Regions from separate parts of the Homo sapiens genome. Here all the other regions are linked to region 7. The links are contacts of gene promoters, found by promoter capture Hi-C in blood cells and fetal thymus (Javierre and others, 2016). All regions are on one chromosome and are shown on one strand. Each heading gives the region's core, a stretch centred on a gene start or on the middle of the fragment in contact. The rest is flanking DNA. Distances are from core to core; before and after follow the strand shown.

Region 1 (3,920 bases), core at 533-3,032, 600 kb after region 7:
CTGTGACTTGGTTCTGTGCCCAATTTACTTACCTTTTCCATTGCTGCTCCCAGCTTTTTGCCATTACAAATTACACAGGGGGCTGGGCATGGTGGCTCATGCTATAATCCCAGCACCTTGGGAGGCCAAGGCAGGTGGATCACTTGAGGCCAGGAGTTTGATACCAGTGTGGCCAACATGGCGAAACCCAGTTTCTACTAAAAATACGAAAAGCTGGGCATGGTGGCGCACACCTGTAATCCCAGCTACTGGGGAGGCTGAGGCACGAGAATCGCTTGAACCTGGGAGGTGGAGATTGCAGTGAACTGAGATCACGCCACTGCACTCCAGCCTGGGCAACAGAGCGAGACTCTGTCTCAAAAAAAAAAAATAAGATAAAAGAAATAACACAGGGATGAACATATTTTGAGTTATTTCCTTAGGACAGATTTCCAGAAGTGAAATTACTAGGTTAGGGACTAAGGTAAAAAAGCGGAGGCCAGGTATGGTGGCTTATGCATGTAATCCCAGCACTGTAGGAGGCCAAGGTGGGTGGATCACTTGAGTCCAAGAGTTTGAGACCAGCCTGGGCAGCATAGGGAGGCCCCATCTCTACAAAAAGTATAAAAATCAGCCAGGTGTGGCGGTGTGTGCCTGTACTCCCAGCACTTTGGGAGGCCAGGGTGGGTGGATTGCTTGAGCCCAGGAGTTTGAGACCAGCCTGGGGAGCATAGGGAGACCCCGTCGCTACAAAAAGTATAAAACTCAGCCAGGTGTGGCGGTGTGTGCCTGTACTCCCAGCACTTTGGGAGGCCAGGGTGGGTGGATTGCTTGAGCCCAGGAGTTTGAGACCAGCCTGGGCAGCATAGGGAGGCCTCATCTCTACAAAAAGTATAAAAATCAGCCAGGTGTGGTGGTGTGTGCCTGTACTCCCAGCACTTTAGGAGGCCAGGGTGGGTGGATTGCTTGAGCCCAGGAGTTTGAGACCAGCCTGGGGAGCATAGGGAGACCCCGTCGCTACAAAAAGTATAAAACTCAGCCAGGTGTGGTGGTGCAAGCCTGTAGTCCCAGCTATTTGGGAGGCTAAGGTGGTAGGATCGCTTGAGCCTGGGAGGTGGAGGCTGCAGTGAGTTGAAATTGTACCACTATACTCCAGCTTGGGTGACAGAGTGAGAGACTGTCTCAAAAAATAAAAAAGAGGGGATGTGATTTCAGAGCCATCCATCCACTATTCCTGTGTAATCTGATTCTCTTTACAATGGTAAAATTGTTAAGAGTCTCACACTCTTTAGTAAAGAACTGTGATAGCTGGGTGTGGTGGGTCATGCCTGTAATCCCAGCACTTTGGGAGGCCAAGGCAGGAAGATTGCTTGAGCCCAGGAGTTCAAGACCAGCCTGGGCAACATAGTGAGGCCCTGTGTCTTTAAAAAACAAACAAACAAACAAAAAACTATAATAAAGGATTTTTGCATCTCATTTCATAGGTTACTATGACATCCGATTTCATAGGTTAAAAAAACCACCGCGCAGAACCGCATCGTTTTCTCTGCATTGTTCTGAATGACCGTGGCTGCTGCCTTTTTCTTTGAGCCTCTCTGTCCACTAACACACTCCCCACACACTAGCGTGCTGCCCACGCAGAGCCCACTTTGGCTCTCTCCACATCTTTAGTTTTTCCATCCTCACTAATTTACATCACTATTTTATTTTTTTTTTAATTAAACAGGAAAGAGCCAGACTTCTCAGAGGTCAGTCTGTTCAACAAGTGGGACCCCAGGGCCTTCTGTATGTTCAGCAAAGAGAGCTTGCAGTGACCTCCCCAAAGGATGGTAGGTTAGGAAGCAGTGAATTGGGCGTTATCCCAAAAGGCTATTGGATATTTTATTTTATTTCTTTTTTAAACAGGCTCCATCTCCATTCTGGGTTCTGATGATGCCACTACTTGTCACATTGTGGTCCTGAGGCACACAGGTATGATGAGAGAGGTGAAGGAAACCATTACTTAAACTGACCCAACCTTTGGGACCATTGAATTTCTCGTGTTGAGTTTCCTGGTGTCTTGTTGGAAGCGGACTCCGCTTACCTTTTTTCTGGTCTGCATGGTGTCTCCCTGGTGTCCTGGTCAGAATGGGTTGGCTGGGGAGCACAGACCTGTCCGTTTTTCCCCTACAGGATATTCAAAGATGAGGCGGTCCGGAGGGACAGGCGGAGTCTCGGCCTGCGCACTGCACTCGCATCAGGGAATAACTTGAGTCCTTTCACCCTTGTTCTTCAGGTAATGGGGCCACCTGCTTGACACATTGTGACGGAACCGACACCAAAGCTGAGGTCCCCTTGATCATGAACTCCATAAAATCCTTTTCTGACCACGCTCAATGTGGAAGGTGAGATCTACGCTGCTCTCATAGGTGAATTGAGATCTTGGAACCGTCGCATACAGGACGTGGCTGTGGAAGCTGTTAGGGGAACACAGGATGCCACCACTGCCGTGTCTGCCTCGTTCCCCTGGAACAGAACCTGGCACGACGTGGGCACTGCGTCAGCAGTGGTTGAGTGAATGAGTGGGTGCTGGGCACAGGCAAGGAGTCTGTGCTGGATTTGAGATGGAAGGCTTGACTTTGAACTTGATGTCGTCTCAGGAACGTCGAGGTTGCGATTTTCACATCGTTTTGCTCTCCCCCGGGTGTGGTAGCTCTCCATGCAGTCATTCCTCCCGCAGTTGCTTGTTAAATGCTTCCTCTCACCTACACCTTGTAGTTTCTAGGGACACAGCAGTGAAGAGTAGACAGAAAGCCCGGCCCAAGGTGTTTGTATTCCGAAGCCGAGAGACTGTACACAAGATGGGGTGTTGGGTGGTGAGGCGGGGCTGTGGAGAAAACGAGGCCAGGAAGATGTGGGGACCGCTAGGGGGCGAGGCATGTAGTTTTTTTTCTTGTTCTCTTTTTGTTGTTGAGATAGGGTCTTGCTGTGTCGCCCTGTCTGGAGCACAGTTGTGTGATCTCAGCTTACTGCAGCCTTGACTTTGTGGACTCAGGTGATTCTCCGACCTCAGCCTCCCAAGTAGCTGGGACCACAGGTGTACACCACCATACCCAGCTAGCTTTTTTTTTTTTTTTTTTTTTTTTTTTGGTAGAGACAGGGTTTTGCCAAGTTGCCCAGGCCGGTCTTAAACTCTTGGGCTCAAGTGATCCTCCCAGCTGAGGGGTATAGTTTTAAATTCCAGCAGATTGGTAGTTTCCCCAAGGATTGCTGGATAAGAAGCGGCCTCTAGCCTGGGTGCCCCCACAGCACCTCATCCTCTCTCACTGCAGTAAAGTAGCCGCTGCCTCCATTTGACAGAGACGGGCAACTGAGGCTCGATGTGCTGGAGCACACAGGAGCTAGGTGGAGGCCGACGACACAGGCCTGCTGTCAAGACCACTGTTCACACACCTGTCCCCTCTCCTTGCTCTTTGTGGAGACCTGGCAGGTGTTGCTCTCATTTTACTGGAAGTCTAAGGCAGCCATTGAGTGAACTACTCCCATCATATACGAAGGCTTAATCCTAGGAGTCTAAAAAGGAAAGAGAGAGTTCTCTGGGAGAGATTTGCTAGTCAATACTGGTCGATTCTAAATTCTCCCTCTGTGGTCTGTGCCAAGGCTGGGCTGGCTTCATGGACACGTGACCCATGCAGGCCCAAAATGGTATTTTCATTTTCCTATCATCTTGGCCCCCGCAGGGGGACGTAATCAATGCCATTATGTTGCCACACACTCTGCTCCGTGGTTCTCAGAACGTGCTTGTCAGCTCTTCCTGATCTGTTGTAGAACTGTGATCGCTCAGGGAGTCAGAGGCAAACCTGGTGGCCCAGTGGCAAAGCCATGGTGGTCGCAGCTCTCCTTACTGCTACTACTTGGAGTTTATTATGAGGCCCCTTGAGGCTGTGCCCTATGTTGGGTAC
Region 2 (3,764 bases), core at 932-3,431, 510 kb before region 7:
ATGAGGTTTCACCCAGCTGGACATCTAGGGGCTGTTCCTAGAATTCCCAGGGACAGGGACACTACAGTCTTTCTGGTATCTCCACTAGTGTCTGTCTCTAAATGTTCACATCAAAGTTCTTTTTTTTAGAGAGACAGAATCTTGCTCTCCTGCCAAGGCTGAAGTGCAATAGGTGATCATAGCTCCCTGCAGCCTTGAACTCCTGGGTTCAGGTGATCCTCCTACCTCAGCCTCTCAAGTAGCTGGGACTACAGGCACGTGCCACCATGACTGGCTAATTTTTAAATTTATTTTTGTAGGACAAGTGTCTTCCTGTGTTGCCCAGGCTGGTCTCGAATTCCTGGCCCCAAGTGATCCTCCCACCTTGGCCTCCCAAAGTTCTGGGATTACAGGGCATGAGCCCCTGTGCCCCACGGCACAGTTAAATATTAAGGGCCAGAGCCTTTCACGCGTAATGTTTTTATCCTGCCGTAATTTCTTCCTCTCCAATTATCTGGAAGCCAAAAAGGCATTGCAAGGTCTCAAAGGCTATTATATGAAGCTAGATTCTTTCAATTGCTGGGACCAGCAACCAACTAAAATTAGCTTAACCAAAAGAATAGAATTTAATGGCTTATATTTCCTTGGGGGCATGGGCCCAGTTGTCATCAGGACACAGTGACTCTCTCCATATCTTCACTCAGTGCTTCTCAAAGTGTGACCCCAGGACCAGCAGTAGTATCACCTGGGGACTAGTTAGCAAAGTACATTCTTAGGCCCCAGCCCAGGACTACTGCCTCAGATACTATGTGGGTCGGCCCATGAATCTAGGTTTTAATTAACCCTCCAAGTAATTCTGATGTACACAAATGTTTAGGAACCACTGGCTTACCTCTGGTCTAATTTTGTACACGCTCTCTTTCCAGGGCAGGTCTTATGGCCACTAGCTATCATATCATCTCACCTTAGCAACTCAACATGCAAAAAACGTTTCTTCAGCTCAGTAGTCATATATTAATCCCAGGGAAGGTTCTGATTGGCCCTTTGTGGATCATGTGTCCATCTCTGAACTCGTCACAGTAACTGAATGGATAGTAGATTCTGATACACTAGGCTGCATCATGTGACCACCTCTCTGATCAGGTCCCATGATTGACAGCACCCCAACCCAGCCCTTTCCCACAGGAAACCAGAAGTAGAAAACATGGTAGTCAGATAAAAACCATGGCTAGGGCTAGGCATGGTGGCTCACACATCTAATCACAGCACTTTGGGAGGCTGAGGTGGGCAGATCACTTGAGGTCAGGAGTTCGAGACCAGCCTGGTCAACATGGTGAAACTCCGTCTACTAAAAATACAAAAATTTAGCCAGTGTGGTGGCGCATGCTTGTAATCCCAGCTTCTTGGGAGGATGAGGCGGGAGGATTGCTTGAGCCCGGGAGGCAGAGGTTGCAGCGAGCTGAGATTGCACCACTGCACTCCAGCCTGGGTGACAGAGAGAGACTCCATCTCAAAAAACAAACAACAAAACCCATGGCTACCACTGTCCCCGACAATTGTCCTAGGTCTTCTCTAAGTTCACTTGACTCCGAGGATGGGCTGTTTCTGTCTCAAGCTTTAGAGTCAAGCAAAGATGGGTTTAAATCCAGGCTCTATCACTTACTGTGGCACTCAGGACAGCTGCTGAATCCCCCGAGCCTTGGATGTTCTCACCACTAACTGATGAATGACGCGAATGCTCACTCTGCAATGAATGAGACACTGTGTGAAAAGCCTGGCACATACAGTTGGGTGTTCAGCAAATTCAGTTCCTCCCTGCCTGCCTGTCTGCCAGCTGCACCCAACCTGCAGCTGCAAACCAAATAACGAATATTTTCTGCACATCACCTGGCATGTAACCCTTGGGTTACATGAGTGAAACTGACTTGGCCAACTGCCTTCATTGCCCCTTACAGTTTTGTTCTCCCACTGACCAGCCGTAAATGAAGTAGTCGGCCTCAGTGCTGGGAAGTGAGACACTTAAACTAAATTGGTGGTTTCTCAACCCTGGCTGTCCCTTAGAATCATCTGGAAGGCTATTTAAACAGCACCAAAGTCAAGGTGACATTTCCAGAGATTCCGATTCAGTCATTCTGGGGTGGGGCATTAGAGGTTTTTGAAGCTCCCCAGGTGATTTTCAAAAAAACCATAGAACTCTGATTCTGCAAGGAAATGAGAACCCAGAGAGGGCAAGCAACTAGCCCAAGGTCACACAGTAAGCTGTTAACAGATCCTGGTCTGGAATCCTGTACTTGGGGCTCTCTGTGCTTCTGGAAACTACCTCTCTATGTCTGTGGCTTCTCCTCTTCCCTCTCCCATCCATCCTTCTCAGAGCCTGTATGTGGTTAGCTCATGCCAGCTGAGACGCTTGGAGTCAGCCAGCTACTCGTCTGTCTGCTCCCACATGGCTGAGACGTTCCAGGGCAGCACAGTGGTCCGGGCATTCCGAACCCAGGCCCCCTTTGTGGCTCAGAACAATGCTCGCGTAGATGAAAGCCAGAGGATCAGTTTCCCGCGACTGGTGGCTGACAGGTAGGAAGAGCCAGGGCAGAGAAGACCTTGCAATTCATCCATATCCTTAGAGGGTGAGACCTGAGGTCATATTGTATGGTAGAGAGGTCACCCAGAGAGTCAGGGACATAGTTGAGGCTAGATCCCACAGGCAGTCTATCAGTTCTCACCGTGGGCAGATGGAACATGACCGAGAGATTCTCAACAGCAGGTGGGCGGGGGGTACAGGAAGAAGCTTCTGTTGCCAGGCAACTGGATCAACCTCTTTTGCCTTGGTGATAAAGCAGCCATATAAGCATCCTCAGCCATCTTTAGGTACTAAGCAAGAACAAGAACACAAGCTTTAAGCACAAATAGACACAGGTTCAAATCCCAGCTCTGCCACTTACCAGCTGGTTGATTTCAGGCAAGTTACATAACCTCTCTGAGCCTCATTTGTCAAACTGGGATCGTGCTCATGGAGTGGATATGAGGATTAAATACAGACACTCATAGGTAAGACCTGTAACATGCTTACTGCATGCCTGGCACTGTTCTGAGCAATCTATGTAGATTAATTTATTTAATTCTGCTAACAGCTTCACCAGGAAGAAACTGTTCTATAGATGATAAATCCTAGGCACAGTGAGGTTTGGAAACTTGTCCAGGGTCTCACAGCTAATACTGGCAGAGCCAGGATTTGAATCCAAGCAGTCTGGTACCAGAGTGTGGAGAGGGTCAAGTACACACTAGGTGCTCAATACATGTGAAGTCCTTTTTCCTTTCATCTCAGGTCCCCAGCCAGCTGGGGCTGTGTATTAGTCCATCTTCACACTGCTAAAAAGAACTACCTGAGACTGAGTAATTTATAAAGAAAGGAAGGTTTAATTGACTCAGTTCCACGTGGCTGGGGAGGCCTCAGGAAACTTACAATCATGGTGGAAAGGGAAGCAAGGCACGTCTTACATGGCAGCAGGAGAGGGAGAGCATGAGGTGGGAACTGCCGCATCCTTTTACGCCATATGATCTTGTGAGAACTCACTATCTCGAGAACAATATGGGGAAAACTGCCCCCATGATCCAGTCACCTCCCACCAGATCCCTCCCTCCACATGTGGGGATTACAATTTGAGATGAGATTTGGGTGGGGACACAGAGCCAAACCATGGAGGCCATGGTTCAGGCCAGGGGAATGGCAGGTGGACATGGCTTGGCAAATTCCAGGGACAGAAAAGCAGCCACACAGGGATGCTCTT
Region 3 (4,333 bases), core at 1,558-4,057, 540 kb before region 7:
GTACAGATGCAGGGGGGTGGCAGAGGTAGAATCCTGGGTCAGAGTGACTTCCCTGATCCTGGCCAGCAGATGTCCATAGCCACCCTGTCACTGGACGTGATCCTTGTCCTGCCATTCTGTAATTTATTTCATATTGCTGTCAGAACAACCTTCCTAAACCACAGTTTTAAAAAATTTGATACGTAGGCTGGGTGTGGTGGCTCATGCCTGTCGTCCCAATACTTTGGGAGGCCGAGGTGGGTGGATCACCTGAGGTCAGGAGTTCAAGACCAGCCTGGCCAACATGGCGAAACCCTGTCTCTACTAAAAATACAAAAATTAGCTGGTTGCAGTGGCGGGCGCCTGTAATCCCAGCTACTTGGGAGTCTGAGGCAGGAGAATCACTTGAACCCAGGAGGCAGAGGTTGCAGTGAGCCGAGATCATGCCACTGTACTCCAGCCTGGGCGACAGAGCAAGACTTCATCTCAAAAAAAAAAAAAAAAGCACCACAAATGGCACCAACACCTAGAGCCCTCAAGTGCTGCTCCTGCCTGCAACTTTAGAGTCATCTTCCAAGGGACTCTAGAATCACAAGTTCCACCACGTCTAGAACAACAGGGCTACCAAGATCAAAAACTCTGCTGTCCCCCGATGCCTGGAACCTAGAGGCATTAGGTTCTCCCCTAGGTTCTAGTGATGCCTAGAGCCGTGGGGCTGCGCACTCATCACCATTAGCAATGCGCTGTGTCTTTAGAGAGAGCCTTATGTAGCTTATGACTGCGGAGAGGACATGTGTTAGCAGGACTGGGAGTGGGATCTACGGAGGGAAGCACATGCGGACATGGCGGGTGGGCCACATGGACCGTGCAGGCACCACAGCTTGCCCAGGCTGCCCTATCCATGCTTGCGTGTCTCACTGTTGCCCCACGTGTCCCCCCCACCCCCCAGGTCGCACTGGTGGTGTTTGCTGTCCACACTCTGGTGGCCGAGAATGCTATGAATGCAGAGAAAGCCTTTGTGACTCTCACAGTTCTCAACATCCTCAACAAGGCCCAGGCTTTCCTGCCCTTCTCCATCCACTCCCTCGTCCAGGTGAGGTGGGTGCAAGGGCTGGAGCCATCCTGGGAGAGTGCGTGGGCTACACCTGGCTCCAGCTTCCCTACCCCTGCCATTTGCAGAGGAGAGGGAAGACAGAGTGGGAGGGAGAGGGATGGTGTGGAGCTGGAAAAGAGGCGGGTAGGGGCAAGAACAGAGGCGGGCAGAGAGTACAGCAAATACATCTGGAAGGGGTCAGCCTTTGGAGGGCAATGTGCAGACCTTTCCACACACACCTCAGAACATGCATACTTGTCCATCTGCCCAGCAATTCCACATACAAGCAATCATGTCAGTTCCCTTTTTTATACAAAGCGATTTTGTTTCTCTTCCTTTGCTATCTCTAGTCCTTTCAGCATGGTGAAAACAAGAAACGGCGGCATACCTGAGCCATCTCCATGTTTTTTATTTTTTATTTTTATTTATTTATTTATTTGAGATGGAGTCTCACTCTGTCACCCAGGCTGGAGTGCAGTGGTGCAATCTCGGCTCACTGCAAGATCTACCTCGCAGATTCAAGTGATTCTCCTGCCCCAGCCTGCCAAGTAGCTGGGACCACAGGCATGCACAACCATGCCCAGCTAATTTTTTTTTTTTTTTTTGTATTTTTAGTAGAGATGAGATTTCACCATGTTGGCCAGGCAGGTCTTGAACCGCTGACCTCAGGTGATCTGCCCACCTTGGCCTCCCAAAGTGCTGATTACAGACATGAGCCACTGCACCCAGTCTTATTTATTTATTTATTGTGTTTTTAGTAGAGACAGGGTTTCACCATGTTGGCCAGGCCAGGCTGGTCTTGAACCCCCGACCTCATGTAATAAGCCCGCCTCAGCCTCCCAAAGTGCTAGGATTACAGGCATGAGCCACCGCGCCTGGCCGCCTTATTTATTTATTTATTTATTTATTTATTTATTTATTTAATTTATTTATTGAGACAGTGTCTCACTCTGTCACCCAGGCTGGAGTGCAGTGGCACGATCTCAGCTCACTGCATGCTCAAACTCCTGGACTCAAGTGATGCTTCTACCTCCCAGCCTCCTGAGTAGCTGGGACTACAGGCATGGGCCACCACATCCGGCTAATTTTTTTAATTTTTTGTAGAAACAAAGAGTCTTGCTATGTTCCCCAGGTCTCCAACTCCTGGCCTCAAGTGATCCTCCTGCACTTGGCTTCCCAAAGTGCTGGGATTACCGGCATGAGCCGCTGCACCTGGCCTAATCTCTATTTTAACGACTGGTCTCTTTCTTCCCCAAAGATGGGTTTGTGACTGGGAGAGAGCGCCCCCAGGTGGACAACATTTGAAATTGTTCCACACAATGGCTTGATAACCTTATTGGAAAAGCCACCATCCTCTTCCCAGATCTTGTCTGCAGAATGGCAGCTGGCTTGCTTCGGTGTCACTGATTTGTAGGATCGCAGAGGTGGGAGATCACCACCATCAAGGTCACCACTCGGGTTGCATCGTTTCCCATGAACTAGAAAGCTTTGTCCTCACGCCTCCTATGCACAGAGCTTGGTAGACAGGAAGCTGTTGCCACACATCTTGAGACACCGACACCCAAAACCTGAGTTCTTTGCTCTTCTTGCTGGGTGACCTGCGGCTTCGGTTTTCCTAGGCCCGGGTGTCCTTTGACCGTCTGGTCACCTTCCTCTGCCTGGAAGAAGTTGACCCTGGTGTCGTAGACTCAAGTTCCTCTGGAAGCGGTGAGTGCTGAGTCTGGCAGGAGGGGTGTGGGAGGGATGGGGGATGTGGGGGCCACCCCAGCCCATAATGGCAAGCCAGCATCAGTACTGGGGGGAGATGGGGGCTGCGGGCAATGGATGACACGTGCAGATCACGCCATCTGCGTGTCACTTGGAAACTGGCACCGTGCTGCTCTTCTTTCTGCTAGCCATTCAGCGACCACTCACTGAGCGCCCACTTTGTACCATCCTGGGTGTACAACAGGGAACACTCTAACACAGTGGTCCCCAAGCTTTTTGGCACCAGGGACTGGTTTTGTGGAAGACAGTTTTCCCACGGACCGGGGAGAGGCGCGTGGTTTTGGGATGATTCAAACACATTCCATTTATTGTGCCCTTTATTATTATTACATTGTACTATATAATGAAATAATTATACAACTCACCATAACGTAGAACCAGTGGGAGCCCTGAGCTTGCTTTCCGTCAACTAGATGGCCCCAAAGCGGGTGATGGGAGACAGAGATCATCAGGCATTAGATTCTTATAAGGAACACGCAACCCAGATTCCTCACATGCACAGTTCACAAGTGTTCGTGCTCCTTTGAGAATCTATTGCTGCTGCTGATTTGGCAGGAGGTGGAGCTCAGGCGGTGATGGGAGTGATGGGGAGTGGCTATAAACACAGATGACACTCTGCTCACCTGCCCTGCGCTCACCTCCTGCTGTATGGCCCAGTTCCTAAGAGGCTGCAGACTGGTACCAGTCTGTGGCCTGGGGGTTGAGGACTCCTGCTCTAACAGACCAGGTCCTTGTCCTCATGCAGAAAGTCCCAGGTAATAAGCATGACAGCATTTTGATCAAGCTGGAAAATAGCAGCATTTCAAGCACCATTGCACGATGAGACTTACCAAGCTCAAGTTACCTGGGCTTCCCCCTCCACCCCATCCTTCTTTTATGCCACGGGCCAAGACACCCTCCCCCTTGTTGCACTGAAGAACCTGGGCAAACTGTGTACCTGGAAAACACCCACATAGTGGTAAGAAGCCGAGCCTGTGGCATTCAACTGCCCAGGTCCAAATCCCAGCCCCAGCACTGACTAGCTGGGTGATCCTGACAAGTAGATCATCTCTCTGAGCTTCCGTGTTCCCATCTCCAAAATGGGCATGTTAATCGTTATAGCAGCTAATTGTGACGATGAATTTAATTGATCTGGGCTAAGCCATGAGAGCTTTGATTTTTAGAAAATCTTTCAGGCAATTCTAACTACGTCTTAAGGATCAAGAACCACTAATCTAATTACACTTGTTATCACAGTGAAATAATAATAATAATTAGTAGTAGTAGCAGTAGTATTTTTGAGACACAGTCTTACTCCGTCATCCAGGCTGGAGTGCAGTGGTGCAATCTTGGTTCACTGCAACCTCCGCCTCCTGGGTTCAAGCAATTCTCCTGCCTTAGCCTCTCAAGTAGCTGTGATTACAGGCGCCCACCACCACGCCTGGCTAATTTTTGTATTTTTTGGTAGAGGCAGGGTTTTGCCATGTTGGCCAGGCTGGTCTCAAACTCCTGACC
Region 4 (4,128 bases), core at 1,629-4,128, 690 kb after region 7:
GCGAAACCCTGTCTACAAAAAACACAAAAATTAGCTGGGCGTGTAGTCCCAGCTACTTTGGAGGCGGAGGTGGGAGAATCACTTGAGCCTGGGAAGCAGAGGTCGCAGTGAGCCAAGATCGTGCCACTCCACTCCAGCCTGGGCAATGGAGTGAGACTCTGTGTGAAAAAAAAAAAAGAAAAAGAAAAATTGTATGGAAAATTTGCAGAAAGCGTAGCAGCAAGAGAGCACATCCCCAAGGTGGTCCGGGCGCAGCTTGATTTTATACATTTTAGGGAAGCATGAAACATTAGTCAAATACATTTAAAGATTTACATTGGTTTGGTCTGGGTTATAGATAGATTAAAAATTTTCTGGGCTGGGCGCGGTGGCTCATGCCGGTAATCCCAGCACTTTGGGAGGCCGAGGCAGGCGGATCACAAGGTCAGGAGATCGAGACCATCCTGGCTAACACGGTGAAACCTCATCTCTACTAAAGATACAAAATATTAGTGGTGTGTGGTGGCGGGCGCCTGTAGTCCCAGCTACTCAGGAGCCTGAGGCAGGAGAGTGGCGTGAACCCAGGAGGCAGAGCATGCAGTGAGCCAAGATCGCACCACTGCACTCCAGCCTGGGCGACAGAGCGAGGTTCCGTCTCAAAAAACAAAAAAAAACAAAAAAAAAGAAAAAAAAGAAAAAAAGATTTCTGATGGGCAATTGGTTGAAAGAGTTATTATTAATAGAAAGGGATATATGGGTTACAATAAGAGGTTGCAGAGACTAAAGTTTTATCTCATAGATGAAGCATTCAGGTAGCAGGCTTCAGAGTAAATAGACTGTAAATTTCAGAGTGAATAGATTGTAAATGTTTCTTTTCTTTTTTTTCTCTTTTTTTGAGATGTAGTCTCACTCTGTCGCCCAGGCTGGAATGCAGTGACACGATCTCAGATCACCGCAATCTCCACCTCCCGGGCTCAAGCAGTTCTCATGCTCAGCCTCCCAAGTAGCTGGGATTACAGGCACATGCCACCACGCCTGGCTAATTTTTTGTATTTTTAGTAGAGATGGGGTTTCACCATGTTGGCCAGGCTGGTATCAAACTCCTGGCCTCAAGTAATCTACCCCCGTCAGCCTCCCAAAGTGCTGGGATTGTGCCACTGCACTCCAGCCTGGGTGACAGAGCGAGACTCCAACTCAAAAAAAAAAGGATAGAAAAGAAAATCAGGAAGGAGGGAAGATTACATATCATTTCCTTGCCAGCCTCTCTCCATTCTCATTTCAGGTGACAAAGAGGAAGGCAGTTGCTTTAGTTTCCTGCTCTGTGTCTGCACATATGAACAAGTCTCAGAGGCAGATGTTGAAGAAACTTCAGTGCTACATTTTTTGAGGGGTTGGCCTTACTGGTTGATTCATCTGCTTCATTGCAAAACAGTCCTTTTGGTCTTAAACATGTTGCGTGTTGGCCGGGCATGGTGGCTCACGCCTGTAATCCCAGCACTTTGAGAGGCCGAGGCAGGCAGATCTCCTGAGGTTAGGAGTTCTAGACCAGCCTGGCCAACATGGCGAAACCCCATCTCTACTAAAAATACGAAAAAATTTAGCCAGGCGTGGTGGCGCATGCCTGTAATCCCAGCTACTCAGGAGGCTGAGGCAAGAGAATCGCTTGAACCCGGGAGGCAAAGGTTGCAGCAAGCTGAGATCGTGCCACTGCACTCCAGCCTGGGTGACAGAGTGGGACTCCATCTCAAATTAATTAATTAATTAATTAATTAATTGTGCATCGTAGTCTTTTGTCAGTAGAAATTTCAGGATTCGCAGAGAAGTTACATTTTAGACATGGTAGCCCCCTTGGTGGTTCTTATGAAACTGGGATTCATTTAAATGAAATAATAATAGCTACAATAAGCTTTACTGTAGTCATCTTAATATATTTTTAATGTGATCCTTAGTTGTAAACAGAAGCTCAGTTCCCACATCAGTACTTATTCCCTGCTGAAAGAGCGCCGAACAAAACCCTTTTTTCATTCGAACACAGCCCTATGTTCTCCATTCATCTCCCACTGTTTGGGGACATTAACGGGACATGAACGCACTGCCTAATTATTGCTGCAGGGCTCTGAGTCACAGCTTCCACGGATGATGAAGCATCAACGTAATGAAGTAATTTATCTTAGAGCATCTCTTCTTGTTTGAAGACCATGGGAGGCCTTTAGCATTTGCTTGAGTAATAGATTGTCTTTAATTCCTGATTTTTTTTTCTATTGCTTCTAAGAAGAGATAAGTATACAGTAATGCATTGGAAATCATCGAAGCCTTCTAAGTCTTCATTTTTCCTTCTTTCATTTCCCATTAAGTAAATCCATTGAGCTGCTCCACAAAGAACACCATGGATATTAGAGGATATTTGCCTCTAGAGATTGCTACCAATCCCTTGCCTCTCTGGGTTCCTAGGAGAACTGACTTGTGCAGAAGGTGCCCAGTAAATGTCAGTTTCATCCCTTTGGCTTTGCCAGATTTAGCAAAATAATTTTTTTCTTTACGTTTTTTAAATTTTTTAATTTTTTTTTTTTTTTCTGAGACGGAATTTCGCTCTTGTTGCCCAGGCTGGAGTGATCCTCCTGCCTTGGCCTCCAGAGTAGCTGGGACTACAGGTGTGCACCACCATGCTCAGGTAATTAAAACAATTTTTTTTTTTTTTTGTAGATATGGAGGTTGTATCAGTCCGTTCTTGCATTGCTATAAAGAACTCCCTGAGACTGGGTAATTTATAAAGAAAAGAGGTTTAATTGACTCACAGTTCCACAGGCTGTGCAGGAGGCATGGCTGGGAGGCCTCAGGAAACTTTGAATCATGGCGGAAGGCAAAGGGGAAGCACGCACATCTTACATAGCTGGAGCAGGAGGAAGGGAGAGAAGGGGGAAGCGCTACATGCTTTTAAACCAACCAGATCTCATAAGAACTCACTCACTATCAGGAGAACAGCAAGGAGGCACTCTCCCCCCATGATCCAATCACCTCCCACCAGGTCCCTCCCCTAACACTGGGGATTATAATTCGGCATGAGATTTGGGCAGGGACCCAAATCCAAACCATAGCAGGGGGGTCTCACTATTTTGCCCAGACTGGTCTTGAACTCTTGGCCTGACAAGCGATCCTCCCGCCTCAGCTTACCAAAGTGCTGTGATTACAGATATGAGCCACCACATCAAGCTAACATAGGGATCGGCACTCTAGCCTGGGCGACAGAGGAGACTACGTCTCAAAACAATTAATTAATTAATTAAAATAAATAACCCCATACTTTCTGCCTCTGTGGCTTTGCCTGTTCTGGGTATTTCGTGTGAACGGACCCATGCATCTGGTGGTCCGGGCTCATTTCAAACGCTCAGCCCCCATGTCGGCCCATGGCCTCCGGATTGGATGGTGTGAGCTGGGTGTGCGCGGGGTGCTCAATCCCTCCGGAGCATCTGGAGTGGCCACGTGCAGGTGCGGGAGGCGGCGGCGGCGCAGGGGGCAGCTGGAGGCCCGGGAAGCCCGGACGTGGTGTAGGGAGCTGCCGACCATGCTGGCTTCTGATCGCGGGCTCCCAAATTCAAGACAGCCCTGGTGACATAGCAAGAGCCTGTCTCTATAAAAAATTAAAAATCAGCCAGGCATGGTGGTGCATGCCTGTGGTCCCAGCTACTCGTGAGGCTGAGGCGGGAGGATCACTTCAGCCTCGGGGTTTGAGGCTGCAGTGAGCTATGACTGTACCACTGCGTTCCAGCCTAGGTGACAGAGTAAGACTTTGTCTAAAAAAAAGAGAGAGAAAGGGAGATGGGAAGATTTATGCTGCTGACTTTGAAGATGTTGGATGGGGAGCCAAGGAGTGCAGGGAGCATCTAGAAGCTTGGAAGAGGCAAGAAAATGAACTCTCCTTTAGGACCTCCAGGAGGAATGCAGTCCTGCAGACCCATTTTAGACTCTGACACCCCAAATTCTAAGACAAGAAGTTTGTGTTCTTTTAAGCCATTAAATTCGTGGTAATTTGTTACCTCAGCCATGGAAAAATGATACAAGGGGGATATAAGTAAAAAGCAAAGAAGGAGATGTTTTGGTGAGCTGGAAGCCTGCCCAGCTGGGAGAAATCTAACAGAAGTTTACTCCGGA
Region 5 (3,773 bases), core at 1,134-3,633, 590 kb after region 7:
ATTTTAACTGCTGTGTTATGTTCTGGGAATCTTTTTTATTGAGTCTTTGTTGGGATTTCATCTGTTAGTTTTTGTCTTTTTTTTTTTTTTTATTTGAGACAAGGTCTTGCTCTGTCACCCAGGCTGGAGTACAGTGGCGTGATCTTAGCTCACTACAACCACCACCTCCGAGGCTCATGCAGTTCTCCTGCCTCAGCCTCCCGAATAGCTGGGACTACAGGCGCCTGCCACCACGCCCAGCTAATTTTTGTATTTTTAGTAGAGATGGGGTTTCATCATGTTGACCAGGCTGGTCTCAAACTCCTGAGCTCAAGTGAACCGCCTGCCTCAACCTCCCAAAGTGCTGGGATTACAGGTGTGAGCCACCGTGCCCAGCCGGCTGTGTTAGTGTTTTAGTGCTCAGGAACATTCTTGTGTGTGGGCACATGCTTCCTTGTCACACACCCGGAAGTGCGGTCAGCTGCGGGGTTGTAGGAGATGCAGATCTTCAACTTTACCTGATAGTGCAAACCACCCTCCAGTGTGGTTTTGCTGATGTGTCCTCCACCAGGAGGAGGGGTCAAGTGCTGTGAGCCTTGGCTAACAGGACAGAAATCAAAGTATGTGGCTTGAAGTTGCCATGGTGACCTGAGAACCTGAGATGGAGAGTGACAGAAGTGAGATCTGAGTCCTCATCTTGGAGAAGCTGTCCAATAGATAATTTTTCAAGTTGCTCAATCATTTAGAGACAACTACTGGAAAAATTAAAAACATAATTGTCTTTATTTTATGTTTTCTTCTATGCATTTAACTGTTCTCACTCGGCATGCCTAGTCCTTTCTGTGCCTGTTTTTGAGGTCATGACTTAGTCAACCCCGTGTCCCTCCTTCAGTAAAGGCTTATTTCTTTTTCAGTGCTTCTTCAGCAAGTCTCTTCACCAACCACTATTTCCTCCTGAGTAACTCCTGAATCCCTTTACCACCAACCTTCTAATTCTTTTGCAAACAGTAAAAATAAAGACACCTATAGTTACGTAATCTAAGAGTTTTGCCTTGCAAACATTTATTTTTAATGAATAGTATCTATTACTCATTAAAATATAATGAATAATATCTATTACTCATTAAAATATAAGCCCAGTTTCACATTCTGAGTGATAGCCACGTTTTCTTTCTCCTTAGCAAACTTGCAAATAGAAGACCCATAGAACGGTACCCTAAAAGTGTTACTTTCTGCTTTATATTGTTATTTTTACTAGCACTTGTTATATTCAGCAATTTCTCTGTGGTAGGTACAGTTGTCACACGCAGCTCACATCTGCACCGAGTCACTCCAGCATGTTAATGCCTCTGTCTGTGTTGTTTTTTTGTTCCACAGTAAGTACCAGCTCGTCTTCTGCTACACCATCATTGAGAGGAACAATCGCCAGATGCTGCCAGTCATTAGGAGTACCGCTGGAGGAGACTCAGTGCAGATCTGCACAAACCCGCTGGACACCTTCTTCCCCTTTGATCCCTGTGTGCTGAAGAGGTAGGTACTTTTAAACATTGACGCTGGAGGAGGTGGATTTTTTTTTTTTTTTTGAGACGGAGTCTCACTCTGTCGCCCAGGCTGGAGTGCGGTGGTGTGATCTCGGCTTACCGCAAGCTCCGCCTCCCGGGTTCACACCATTCTCCTGACTCAGCCTCCCGAGTAGCTGGGACTACAGGCACCCACTGCCACGCCTGGCTAATTTTTTGTATTTTTAGTAGAGACGGGGTTTGACTGTGTTAGCCGGGATGTTCTCGATCTCCTGACCTCGTGATCCGCCCGCCTCGGCCTCCCAAAGTGCTGGGATTACAGGCGTGAGCCACCGCGCCCGGCCAGGAGGTGGATTTAAACGTGATACATGTTTGCTTTTCCCAAAATTGGGATTTAGGGCTCTTCACCAGAAGTGGCCCTTCCTCGCTGTTGATGAGCATCTCGTGGTCTCCCTGCGTATATTTCACCAGATGCAAAGTAGAGGATGCCTAGCAGGACTTGCCGAGTGGCGCAGGCACCCCAGAGTGGGTAGATCTTTGCCTCACTAGGAGCCAGACTGACATCAAGGGTTTTTTGTTTTTTGTTTTTCTTTAAACTGTTATTTAAACATGTAAGGTTAATGGGGATAATGGTGCCAGGATAGGGGAGGGTGCTGTCTTTTCTTGCTTCATAATTTTCTGCCAAGTGTCTTGTTCCTTCCTCTAGAGACCACATACCATTCTGTTGCACAGGATAAACGAAAAACAAACGATTGGCTGGGCGTAATGGCTCATGCCTGTAATCCCAGCACTTTGGGAGGCTGAGGCGGGCGGATCACTTGAAGTCAGGAGTTCAAGACCAGCCTAGCCAAGATGGTGAAACGCTGTCTTTACTAAAAATACAAAAATTAGCTGGGTGTGGTGGTGGCGCCTGTAATTCCAGCTACTCGGGAGGCTGAGGCAGGAGAATCTCTTGAACCCGGGAGGTGGAGGTTGCAGTGAGCCGAGATTGCACCAATGCACTCCAGCCTGGGCGAGAGAGTGAGACTCTGTCTCAGAAAAACAAAACAAAAAAAAAACAAAAAGCGATTTATCTAGATGAGTTGTTCTAGAAAACCACTGGGCCAGCCTTAACTTGGCACTTGTATAAGGAAGCAGGATTTTTGCTTATTATGGTTTCTAAAATAACTAGCAGCATCATGACCATCTGGGATTGTCTGGTCCCTGAAGTCTTGGTTGACTGAAACCAGATTAGTTGTTTTTCCTAGACTTACTTTTCAGCAAATTACTACAGAAATATAAAAAAGAGAGTTCCAGAATATTACGGTTTCATTTCCATTTGGATATACTGTATCTAACTGACTTGTGAGTCTTTGTAAAGTTTAGAAACAATTTCACATGAAAATGGAAAGATGAAAAACGGTAGTTCAATACTCCATCGACATGAGTGAATGAACTCTTATACAGAAAGAGCCACATTAGTTACAGCATTTACATAGAGGGTTGTTTTTTTGTTTTGTTTTTTTCTTTTTTTTTTTTTTTTTTGAGACAGAGTCTTGCTCTGTCTCCCAGGCTGGAGTGCAGTGGCGCGATCTCGGCTCGCTGCAAGCTCCGTCTCCCAGGTTCAGGCCATTCTGCCTCAGCCTCCCGAGTAGCTGGGACTACAGGTGTCCGCCACCACACCCGGCTAATTTTTTGTATTTTTAGTAGAGATGGGGTTTCACCGTGTTAGCCAGGATGGTCTCGATCTCCTGACCTCATGATCTGCCCACCTCAGCCTCCCAAAGTGCTGGGATTACAGGCGTGAGCCACTGCACCCAGCCAGGTTTTTTTTAAATGTAATTATTTAAGCTGTAGTTTTCACTTCTTGGTTTTGGGTAATAGATCTTGTGAGAAAAGATCCAAACCAATTTTGACTTCTGCCGAAGTATTTAACTTGACTTTGAAATGTGATCTTTGTTGACAGGTCAAAGAAATTCATTGATCCTATTTATCAGGTGTGGGAAGACATGAGTGCTGAAGAGCTACAGGAGTTCAAGAAACCCATGAAAAAGGTCAGTTTGTGATTGATTGAGCACACTCTCGGAATCTCCTTTCTGGTTCCAGGTCACAGTGAGATAGTAAGTGGCAAGTCGTTCGTGCGTGTAATCCCCGCACTTTAGGGGGTCAAGGCCAGAGGATTGCTGGAGACCAGCCTGGGCAACACAGTGACACCCTGTTTCTACAAAAATTTTTTTAATTAGCTGGGCGTGGTGGTGCACACCTGTAATCCCAGCTCCTCTGGAAGCTGAGGTG
Region 6 (4,225 bases), core at 87-2,586, 820 kb after region 7:
CACCGCCGCCGCCAGAGCCGCCGCGCACGCGCGCTTCGACCCCACGTTCACAGCCCCAGAAGAGAGAACTAAGGCGCATGCTCGGCAAGGAAACGAGACCATCTCTGCCTTCTAGAGGCCTGGAGGACTCCGCGCGACATCTGGCAGGCGCAACGCAAGGTGCATGCCTACAGGGAGAAGCTCCAAAGATGAATTCTACTTTAGAATTCACCATCACAGCTGGAAAGGACGGGAGATTTTGTTGGTGGAATTATCTAACAACTTTCTCAAATCTTTCTGACCCATATATTTCGCAGGTAAAATATATAATCTCACAAAAAGCTTTAGGGCCGGGTGTGTGGCTCACGCCTGTAATCCCAGCACTTTGGGAGGCTGAGGTGGGTGGATCGCTTGAGCCCAGGAGTTCGAGACCAGCCTGGGCAATATGGCGAAACCCCATCTCTACACACACACGCGCACACGCACACACACGCACACACACACACACACGAAAAACACACACGAAAAACGCTTTAAGAATTTGTGTAAGCTGGTGTATTTTTCCATGATAAATGATCGATACTTTTTTAAGCAAAACGTGTTAATGTTAGCATATTAAAGAAAGTATGTAAGATTTATTTTAATCCTAGCTCTAATAACATATGCCTAGAAACAAATTTTGATGAGTTTTCTTCCCCTAAGCAAGAAGTGCATGCAGTCAGTATACTTTGAATTAGCTCTGCAAGATGAAACATGATTTGCCTAAAAACAAGCTCAAATCCAGCATATTTTGTCCCAAGAGTGAATTCATATGTACACTGAATTTAACTACCAGTCACCACATCAAAATACACACCAAAGAGGCCGGGCACAGTGGCTCACGCCTGTAATCCCAGCACTTTGGGAGGCCAAGGCTGGCAGATCATGAGGCCACGAGATCGAGACCATCCTGGCTAACACAGTGAAACCCCGTCTCTACTAAAAATATAAACACTTAGCCGGGCGTGGTGGCGGGCGCCTGTAGTACCAGCTACTCGGGAGGCTGAGGCAGGAGAATGGCGTGAACCTGGGAGGCGGAGCTTGCGGTTAGCCGAGATCGCACCACTGCACTCCAGCCTGGGCGACAGAGCAAGACTCTGTCTCAAAAAAATAAATAAATAAAATTAAAAAAACACCAAAAAATTGCTTTTCTTACCTAATATTAGGATTTCTTCCATTTTGTCTCAAAAAAAAAAAGCTAGTGCTTTATTTTGATAGGTTTTGTATTTTGTTTCCAAATGACAAAGTAAGACTGAATTTCCCGCTGCAATTTGCCATTGTGGCTAAAACTTAAGCAATAAACAACTAAGAAGCACAGGTTCAAACCATACAGTAGTCAAACTTTCATGGGGGCAAGGAGGGAATGAAGGGAATGACACATTGACCTCAGGGTCATAATCATGAGTGCATCTGATTTCAGTTTCTCGTGCTGCATTTTCACTCAAATACAGTAGACTCTCAACTATTCAGTGATAATGAGAAACCATTTAAATAATTCGTCTACTTATTGGGGTTTGTTATTTATAACCACAATTGAAATAGATGCCTTTTATGCAAATCACCAGAGGATTGAAAGCCACCAATTAGAAAGTGTAGGCCTATGGAAACCTCTCATCTTACAGAATGGGAAACTGAGGCCCAGAGAGGAAAAGGAAGTTGTCTAAGACTCTGCATGCAGCCATAGGTTTTCCCGGAGCTAGAGAGCAGGAATTGGGGCCAGAAGCCGTGGCTTACTACTGTAATATGAACATGTTGGGAGTCCGAGGTGGGCAGATCATTTGAGGTCAGGAGTTCGAGACCAAATTGGCCAACATGGCAAAACCCTGTCTCTACTAAAAATACAAAAATTAGCTAGGTGTGGTGGCGCATGCCTCTAATCCCAGCTACTCAGGAGGCTGAGGCAGGAGAATCACTTGAACCAGGGAGCCACAGGTTGCAGTGAGCTGAGGTCTTGCCACTGCACTCCAGCCTGGGCGACAGAGTGAGACTCCATCTCAAAAAAAAAAAAAAAGCAGGAAGTGGGATCCCCAAGTTTTGTTCTGGACTCACCCCAATTGATTTCTGCTGTGTTCTTCTTGACTTTCTGACTATTTCCCTCAAATTCATCTTCAAATATAGAAAGAAATGAAGCACCAGGACTGTGACAATGCCAATTCATGGGGGTGGGATTGGGGAGTGGCTTGCAGAGAGACAGGGATTTAGCTTCCCCATAATTTCCATCAGTTTCCACCAAAACCAGCTCAGATAAGCAGACATGATTTACATGGAAACAGTAGACCTGCCACACTGAGCTTCATGACAAATCCTTGGGTTCTTTCTGTCCCGAAGCTTCCAGAAGACTCAGGCAGGAGGACAGCTGAAGGGGGCAGGGGAGGGGGTGCTCCCTGGGCCCAATACTGGATTTAGAGTGATACAAAAAGATCGGGGAAAACACGCTGTGGGGTCCCTGCAGAAGGCAAGAGTAGAAGATGAGGACAGGACCCCGAGAATTAGCAAGGCAGCATGGAGAGTGCAGAGGATTTTAATTCTTCTCCCAAACTGAGCACCTGTGCTTGTCTGTCTAAAAGAGCCGAATATTTCATTCCTATCTTGAAACAAGTACTTGCTCACTGCAACAACAAAGAAATTGGAAAAGAAAACTAGGATTCCCCAAGATCACTGTGTTACCACATTTCCATCTTTTTATCGATGCATTTATGCTAGTATGACATCGAGTCATTTCTAAGAAGTGGTGGCTGGGTCTTTGACACTTTGCTTTAAGACCCAAGAGAGAGCTGGGCATGGTGGCTCACGCCTGTAATCGCAGCACTTTGGGAGGCCTAGGCAAGAGGATGGCTTGAGGCCAGGAGTTCCAAAGCAGCTTGGGCAACAAAGTGAGACAAGTCTCCACAAAAAAATTTAAAAATCAGCCAGGCTTGGTGGTGTGTGCCTGTAGTCCCAGATACTCCGGAGAGGCTGAGGTGGAAGGTTGCTTGAGCTCAGGAGGTCAAGGCTGCAGTGAGCCATGATGGCACTACTGCACTCCAGCCTGGGTGACAGAGCAAGACCCTGACTCAAAAAAAAAAAAAAAAAAAAAAGAGACGGAGAGAGAAAAAGACTCAAGAGAGGAAGGTAAATGCCTTGGCCTTCTTCTCCATGTTCCCTAATTTAGGCATATCCTTTTCTTTTTTGCTTTAAAAAAACCAAAGCCTATTTTATATTATAATCTCTTTTATTCAATCATCACTTAGCAACCACCTTTTCATATTCATATATGTCTTCAATGGCATTTTGTTTGTTTGTTCTGAGACAGAGTCTCGCTCTGTCACCCAGGCTGGAGTGCAGTGGCACAATCTTGGCTCACCGCAACCTTCGCCTCCCAGGTTCAAGCGATTCTCCTGCCTCAACCTCCTGAGAAGCTGAAACTACAGGCACGCACCAAAACACCCAGCTAATTTTTGTATTTTTAGTAGAAACGGGGTTTCACTATGTTTGCCAGGCTGGTCACAAACTCCTGACCTCAAGTGATCCGCCCTCATCAGCCTCCCAAAGTGCTGGGATTACAGGCATGAGCCACCGTGCCCAGCTGCAATGGCATTTTAAACCACTGGTTAGTAACCCATGGCCTCAATTATAACGGTAGTAATAAAAGCTAAGTCTTCTGAGCATTTAATGTATATCTGGCAGTGTGCTAAACGCTTGCATAATCTCACTAAGTTCTCCCCACCACTCCACGGGTAGACAGTGTCCATTCCAGCAGTGAGGGGACTGTGACGTGGTCTCCATCCTATCTCCCTCGGATATTATGAAACATATCACAGAGTGTACACCCACTGTGATATTAGGAGAAAGCTCTCCCTTGGGTATTAGAATAATATCACAGGGTATACACTCACTGTGATATCAGGAGTAAAATCACCCTCAAATATAATGAATAATATCACAGGGTGTACACTCACTGTGATATTAGGAGTAAGATCTCCCTTGGATACTATGAATAATATCACACAGTGCACACCCACTGTGACGCGGTACACCCACTGAGATATTAGGAATAATATCTCCCACGGATATTAGGAATAATATCTCCCTCAGATATTATCACACCCACTTTGATATTGGAAGTAATATCTCCCTCGGATGTTATGAATAATATAGAAGGGTGTACACTCACTGTGATATGGAGAGTAATACCTGCCTCAGATATTACAAATAATATCATAGGGTG
Region 7 (4,162 bases), core at 1,130-3,629:
TTTTATTCTACTGAACCAAGTGACAGGGAAAGAATTTTTCCTACTGTGGTTTTGCCTCCTCCAACCCTTTTCAAACATTTCTTGAATACCTACTAAGTGCTGGGCACTGCTGAAGGAGGCAGACAAAAAGCACCCACATCCATTGCACGAGGTGCACGTGTAGTACTAACTGCAGGCACAAACTTTCTGTACACAGGAATGCTCATGTTAGGAAATTACCTTGTGAGGAAAAGGAGTGTCAATTCTCGGCTCACATTCTAAGGCAAAAGAACACACTTTGGGCTGCATGCAGTGGCTCATGCCTGCAAGTAATCTCAGCACTGTGGGAGGCCAAGGCAGGAGGACTGCTTGAGCCCAGGAATTTGAGACCAGCCTGGGCAACAAAGCAAGATTCTGCCTCTACATAAAAAATAATAATAATGATAGAGTCGGGTGCAGTGGCTCATGCCTGTAATCCCAACACTTTGGGAGGCTGAGGTGGGCAGATCACGAGGTCAGAAGTTTGAGACCAGCCTGGCCAATATGGTGAAACCCCATCTCTACTAAGAATTAGCCGGGCATGGTGGCACGCACCTGTAATCCCAGCTACTCAGGAGGGTGAGGCAGAAGAATCACTTGAACCCGGAGGACTGAGGTTGCAGTGAGTCGAGATCATGCCACTGCACTCCAGCCTGGACAAGAACAAGACTCCGTCTCAAAATAAATAAATAAATAAATAATAAATAACACACTTTGGAAACAAAAATAAGTCAAGTTAATAAACTGTTATCCAACATGGGATAAAATATATGAATCACAGGCCCCTGAGACTTCAGCGGCACAGATCATCTGCATTTAATCCTACACAAAACACACACTAAGAGGAAAGGCTCAAAATGGGTTGTAGGCCGGCACGGTGGCTCACGCCTGTAATCCCAGCACTTTGGGAGGCCGAGGGGGCAGATCACGAGGTCAGGAAATCGAGACCATCCTGGCTAACACGGTGAAACCCCATCTCTACTAAAAATACAAAAAATTAGCCAGGCGTGGTGGCACGCACCTGTAGTCCCAGCTACTCCGGAGGCTGAGGCAGGAGAATCGCTTGAACCCGGGAAGCGGAGGTTGCAGTGAGCCAAAATCGCACCACTGCACTCCAACCTGGGCGAGAGTGAGACTCTGTCTCAAAAACAAAAACAAAAAAAAAAAAAAAAAAACGGGTTGTATACCAACGAGGTGATGGAGGCTGGGGTGGTCGGGTAACAAGAGGCTTTAGGAGTAGCTGGGATCTAATTAATCTTCAAAACACCCGACCCATGTCCTAAAATGCCATCCTATGCTAGAATACACTATAACAAAACTAAAAATGATGAACCTGCCTAGGTCGTGCTGCAAAGGCCTTTTCTTTAGAAAGTTAAAAGGGGCCTGAGGCTCAAAGTAGAAATTAAGAGGCACAACCTGGTAGTAACCACGGACAAAGCAATCAAGGAAGCTCAGGCCCTCAGGAGGCAGAAAGCCTGAGATGGCTCGGAGAAGATAAAGTCGCCTCCCCAAAAGCGGTGTCAAGGTGACAGCGGGGTTTCCCAGGACCTCAGAGACTCAGGTCCTCAGTGAGCCCAGCCATCACTCAAGCTGCGGAATAAGCATTTTCGTCCTTTACCCAATCCCTCCCCAAAGTGCTGTCAGAAGAAACCTGAACCGTCCTGCGGCAGAGACGGGAGCAAAGCGGAGAGCAGACTGCCCCAAACGTGTTCCCGGAGGGAGGGAGCAGGGTGGGTTTTTGGAAAGAGGCCTGCAGGGGCGGGACAGTGGGTGTGAGGGCAGGGGCAACGCTGCAATCGAGGGGTCTGGGGTCGCAGAGAAGCGGGTGGCAGGATGGAGGAATAGGAGAGAGAGAGAAAAGAAACGAGGGTCATCTAGGAGAGGAGTATGGGGAGGAAGGAAGAGGAGAAAGAGGATGGAGCCTGGCAGCGGGGTTTGGGGACCGGCAAGGCTTAACCACCCAGGAAGTCCCGGAAGGAGAAGAGGGCAACGGGGTGGGAGAGAGACCAACGCAGAAAGAGAAACAAAGTTGCCAAGGGCGAGGGGCCAGCGCGAGGAACGCACCGGTGGCAAGGCACTCAGTGCCTAACTTTTTAGGACGGGAGGCTCCAGGGAGGCGGGATTTTGGAGCCCAGGGACCGGGGGAGTCCAGGCGGCCGGGAAGCGACGCGCAAGCGAGGGGCGTAGGGGTCCCTGCCAGGCGGTGGCCCGGGGTCCCGGGATCCTGGGGCGGGGCAGAGGAGCTTTTCAGCCGCGGTGGAGGTCCCCGGACAGCCACCCCGACCCCAGCCCCGCGCAGCGCCTCACTTACCCGAGCAGGGGCGGCGAGGCCAACGCGGCGGCGGCGGCAGAGGCGGCTGCGAAGGGCGGTGCGGCCCCGGCCCTCCGGACCCCGCCCCCGCCCCGGAGCCTGCGGTCGGCGCCTCCCATTGGCTGCTGCTCTACGGTACCGCGTCCGCCTCGGCCAATCAGCGCAGAGCAGCGTCGTTTGGAAACTTTTTTCCCAGGCCGGGCGCGGCGCGGCCAAGCGGCGAAGGCTCCTGGCCGGAGGGGGTTTGAGAGGCGCCGGCTGCCGGGCGCTGGGCTGCGGCGGGCTGGCGGGCATTGGAGATGCTGCAGAACGCTGCCTGGACACCCGGGAAACGGGTTTGGGCTTGCGGGCCGCGCATTTCAGGAAAATACGCCGGCCTCTCCTTCACTTCGATTGCATTTTCCCATTCTTGCACTTTCTCCAAATCAGAAGGAAAGACAAAGATTCAGGCCCACTGAAGCTAGCAGTGCCCCGTGCCCTTCCTACTCCTTTACACCAAAAGTAGAATCTTCAGCATCATTATCTTCTCCAGAAGCAGGAGAACGTAGTGCACCAGAATTTGGTCATAAACTTGGCTTTGAGTCCTAGTCCTGCCCCTTACTAACTGTGTGGTCTTGGGAAAGTTGTTTAGCCTCTATGACTCCGTTTCCCCATCTATAAAACGCCATTATGGGTCTGGCGCGGTGGTCACGCCTGTAATCCCAGCACTTTGGGAGGCCAAGGCGGGTGGATCACGAGGTCAGGAGTTCAAGACCAGCCTGGCACATGGTGAAACCCCGTCTCTACTAAAGATACAAAAAATTAGCCGGATGTGGTGGCACGCACCTGTAATCCCAGCTACTCAGGAGGCTGAGGCAGGAGAATCACGGGAAACCGGGAGGTGGCGGTTGCAGTGAGCCGAGATCACACCACTGCACTCTAGCCTAGGCGACAGGGCAAGACTCCGTCTTAAAGAACAGACAAACAAACAAACGACATTATGCAGAGGACTAAATGACTTAACAGCATTTGTAAAAACGTTTAGAACAGAAATTTGAACTTAGTAAGTACAATATATGTATTTGTTAAATGATCTTGATTTTGTTTATTTATTTATTTTGAGATGAAATCTCCCTCTGTCTCCCAGGCTGGAATGCAGTGGCGTGATCTCCACTCACTGCAACCTCTGCCTTCTGAGTTCAAGCAATTCTCCTGCTTCAGCCTCCCGAGTAGCTGGGATCACAGGCCCGCATCACCACACCCGGCTAATTTTTATATTTTTAGTAGAGACGGGGTTTCACCATGTTGGCCAGGCTGCTCTCGAATCCCTGTCCTCAGGTGATCCACCCACCTCGGCCTCCCAAAGTCCTGGGATTACAGGCGTGAGCCACCACACACTGCCTGAAGATCGTGATTTTTAAATGGCTGTGTGTGCCAGGCACAATTCTCACAGCAACCCTAATTGTTCACTAACAAATTAAAATTAAAAAATAATTTTTTTCTTTTCGAGACAGAGTTTCCCTCTTGTTGCCCAGGCTGGCGTGCAATGGTGCGATCTCGGCTCACTGCAACCTCTGCCTCCCAGATTCAAGCGATTTTCTTGTCTTAGTCTCCCTAGTAGCTGGGATTACAGGCGCCCACCATTACGCCCAGCTAATTTTTTGTATTTTTAGTAGAGACACGGTTTCACTGTGTTGGCCAGGCTGGTCTCGAACTCCTGACCTCAAGCAATACACCTCAGTCTCCCAAAGTGCTGGGATTACAGGCGTGAGCCATGTAACTCAGAAGGCAGAGGTTGCGGTGAGTGGAGATCACGCCACTGCATTCCAGCCTGGGAGACAGAGGGAGACTTCA

What was found. The method cuts DNA at HindIII sites, captures the fragments that hold promoters and counts their contacts. A CHiCAGO score of 5 or more calls a contact.
Region 1: a fragment that was not itself captured here is called in contact with the fragment with the promoter of NDE1 in region 7 in 2 of 17 cell types (fetal thymus and total CD4 T cells); the score reaches 6.7 in fetal thymus.
Region 2: a fragment that was not itself captured here is called in contact with the fragment with the promoter of NDE1 in region 7 in 1 of 17 cell types (erythroblasts); the score reaches 7.5 in erythroblasts.
Region 3: a contact is called between a fragment that was not itself captured here and the fragment with the promoter of NDE1 in region 7, in 2 of 17 cell types (megakaryocytes and monocytes). The highest score is 6.3, in megakaryocytes.
Region 4: a contact is called between a fragment that was not itself captured here and the fragment with the promoter of NDE1 in region 7, in 6 of 17 cell types (erythroblasts, M2 macrophages, neutrophils and 3 more). The highest score is 9.5, in erythroblasts.
Region 5: a fragment that was not itself captured here is called in contact with the fragment with the promoter of NDE1 in region 7 in 1 of 17 cell types (fetal thymus); the score reaches 5.9 in fetal thymus.
Region 6: a fragment that was not itself captured here is called in contact with the fragment with the promoter of NDE1 in region 7 in 2 of 17 cell types (erythroblasts and total B cells); the score reaches 6.3 in erythroblasts.

The regions. Positions count from the first base shown.
Region 1 is chr16:15,045,885-15,049,804 of GRCh38, reverse strand. It overlaps NTAN1 (N-terminal asparagine amidase), which reads left to right. Exons shown (of 10, transcript NM_173474.4): 2 at 1,706-1,808; 3 at 1,885-1,950; 4 at 2,255-2,363. It also overlaps a transcript of PDXDC1 not described here. Among named protein-coding and RNA genes, the nearest start is that of NTAN1, 8.2 kb to the left of the region's middle. The HindIII fragment of the contact is 4,295 bases long and covers 1-3,920 here.
Region 2 is chr16:16,161,779-16,165,542 of GRCh38, reverse strand. It overlaps ABCC6 (ATP binding cassette subfamily C member 6), which reads left to right. Exons shown (of 31, transcript NM_001171.6): 24 at 2,351-2,550. Among named protein-coding and RNA genes, the nearest start is that of ABCC6, 60 kb to the left of the region's middle. The HindIII fragment of the contact is 1,170 bases long and covers 1,597-2,766 here.
Region 3 is chr16:16,185,570-16,189,902 of GRCh38, reverse strand. It overlaps ABCC6 (ATP binding cassette subfamily C member 6), which reads left to right. Exons shown (of 31, transcript NM_001171.6): 13 at 929-1,072; 14 at 2,692-2,779. Among named protein-coding and RNA genes, the nearest start is that of ABCC6, 36 kb to the left of the region's middle. RefSeq lists a silencer at 3,330-3,503. The HindIII fragment of the contact is 493 bases long and covers 2,561-3,053 here.
Region 4 is chr16:14,957,124-14,961,251 of GRCh38, reverse strand. No RefSeq gene overlaps it. Among named protein-coding and RNA genes, the nearest start is that of PDXDC1, 16 kb to the left of the region's middle. The HindIII fragment of the contact is 1,982 bases long and covers 1,888-3,869 here.
Region 5 is chr16:15,062,955-15,066,727 of GRCh38, reverse strand. RRN3 (RNA polymerase I transcription factor RRN3) reads left to right here. Exons shown (of 18, transcript NM_018427.5): 16 at 1,357-1,509; 17 at 3,445-3,532. It also overlaps a transcript of PDXDC1 not described here. Among named protein-coding and RNA genes, the nearest start is that of NTAN1, 8.8 kb to the right of the region's middle. The HindIII fragment of the contact is 4,781 bases long and covers 1-3,773 here.
Region 6 is chr16:14,829,515-14,833,739 of GRCh38, reverse strand. It overlaps NOMO1 (NODAL modulator 1), which reads right to left and starts at 19. Exons shown (of 31, transcript NM_014287.4): 1 at 1-19. The HindIII fragment of the contact is 2,025 bases long and covers 324-2,348 here.
Region 7 is chr16:15,648,462-15,652,623 of GRCh38, reverse strand. NDE1 (nudE neurodevelopment protein 1) reads right to left here and starts at 2,379. Exons shown (of 9, transcript NM_017668.3): 1 at 2,330-2,379. RefSeq lists enhancers at 1,677-2,176, 2,177-2,678. The HindIII fragment of the contact is 10,572 bases long and covers 1-4,162 here.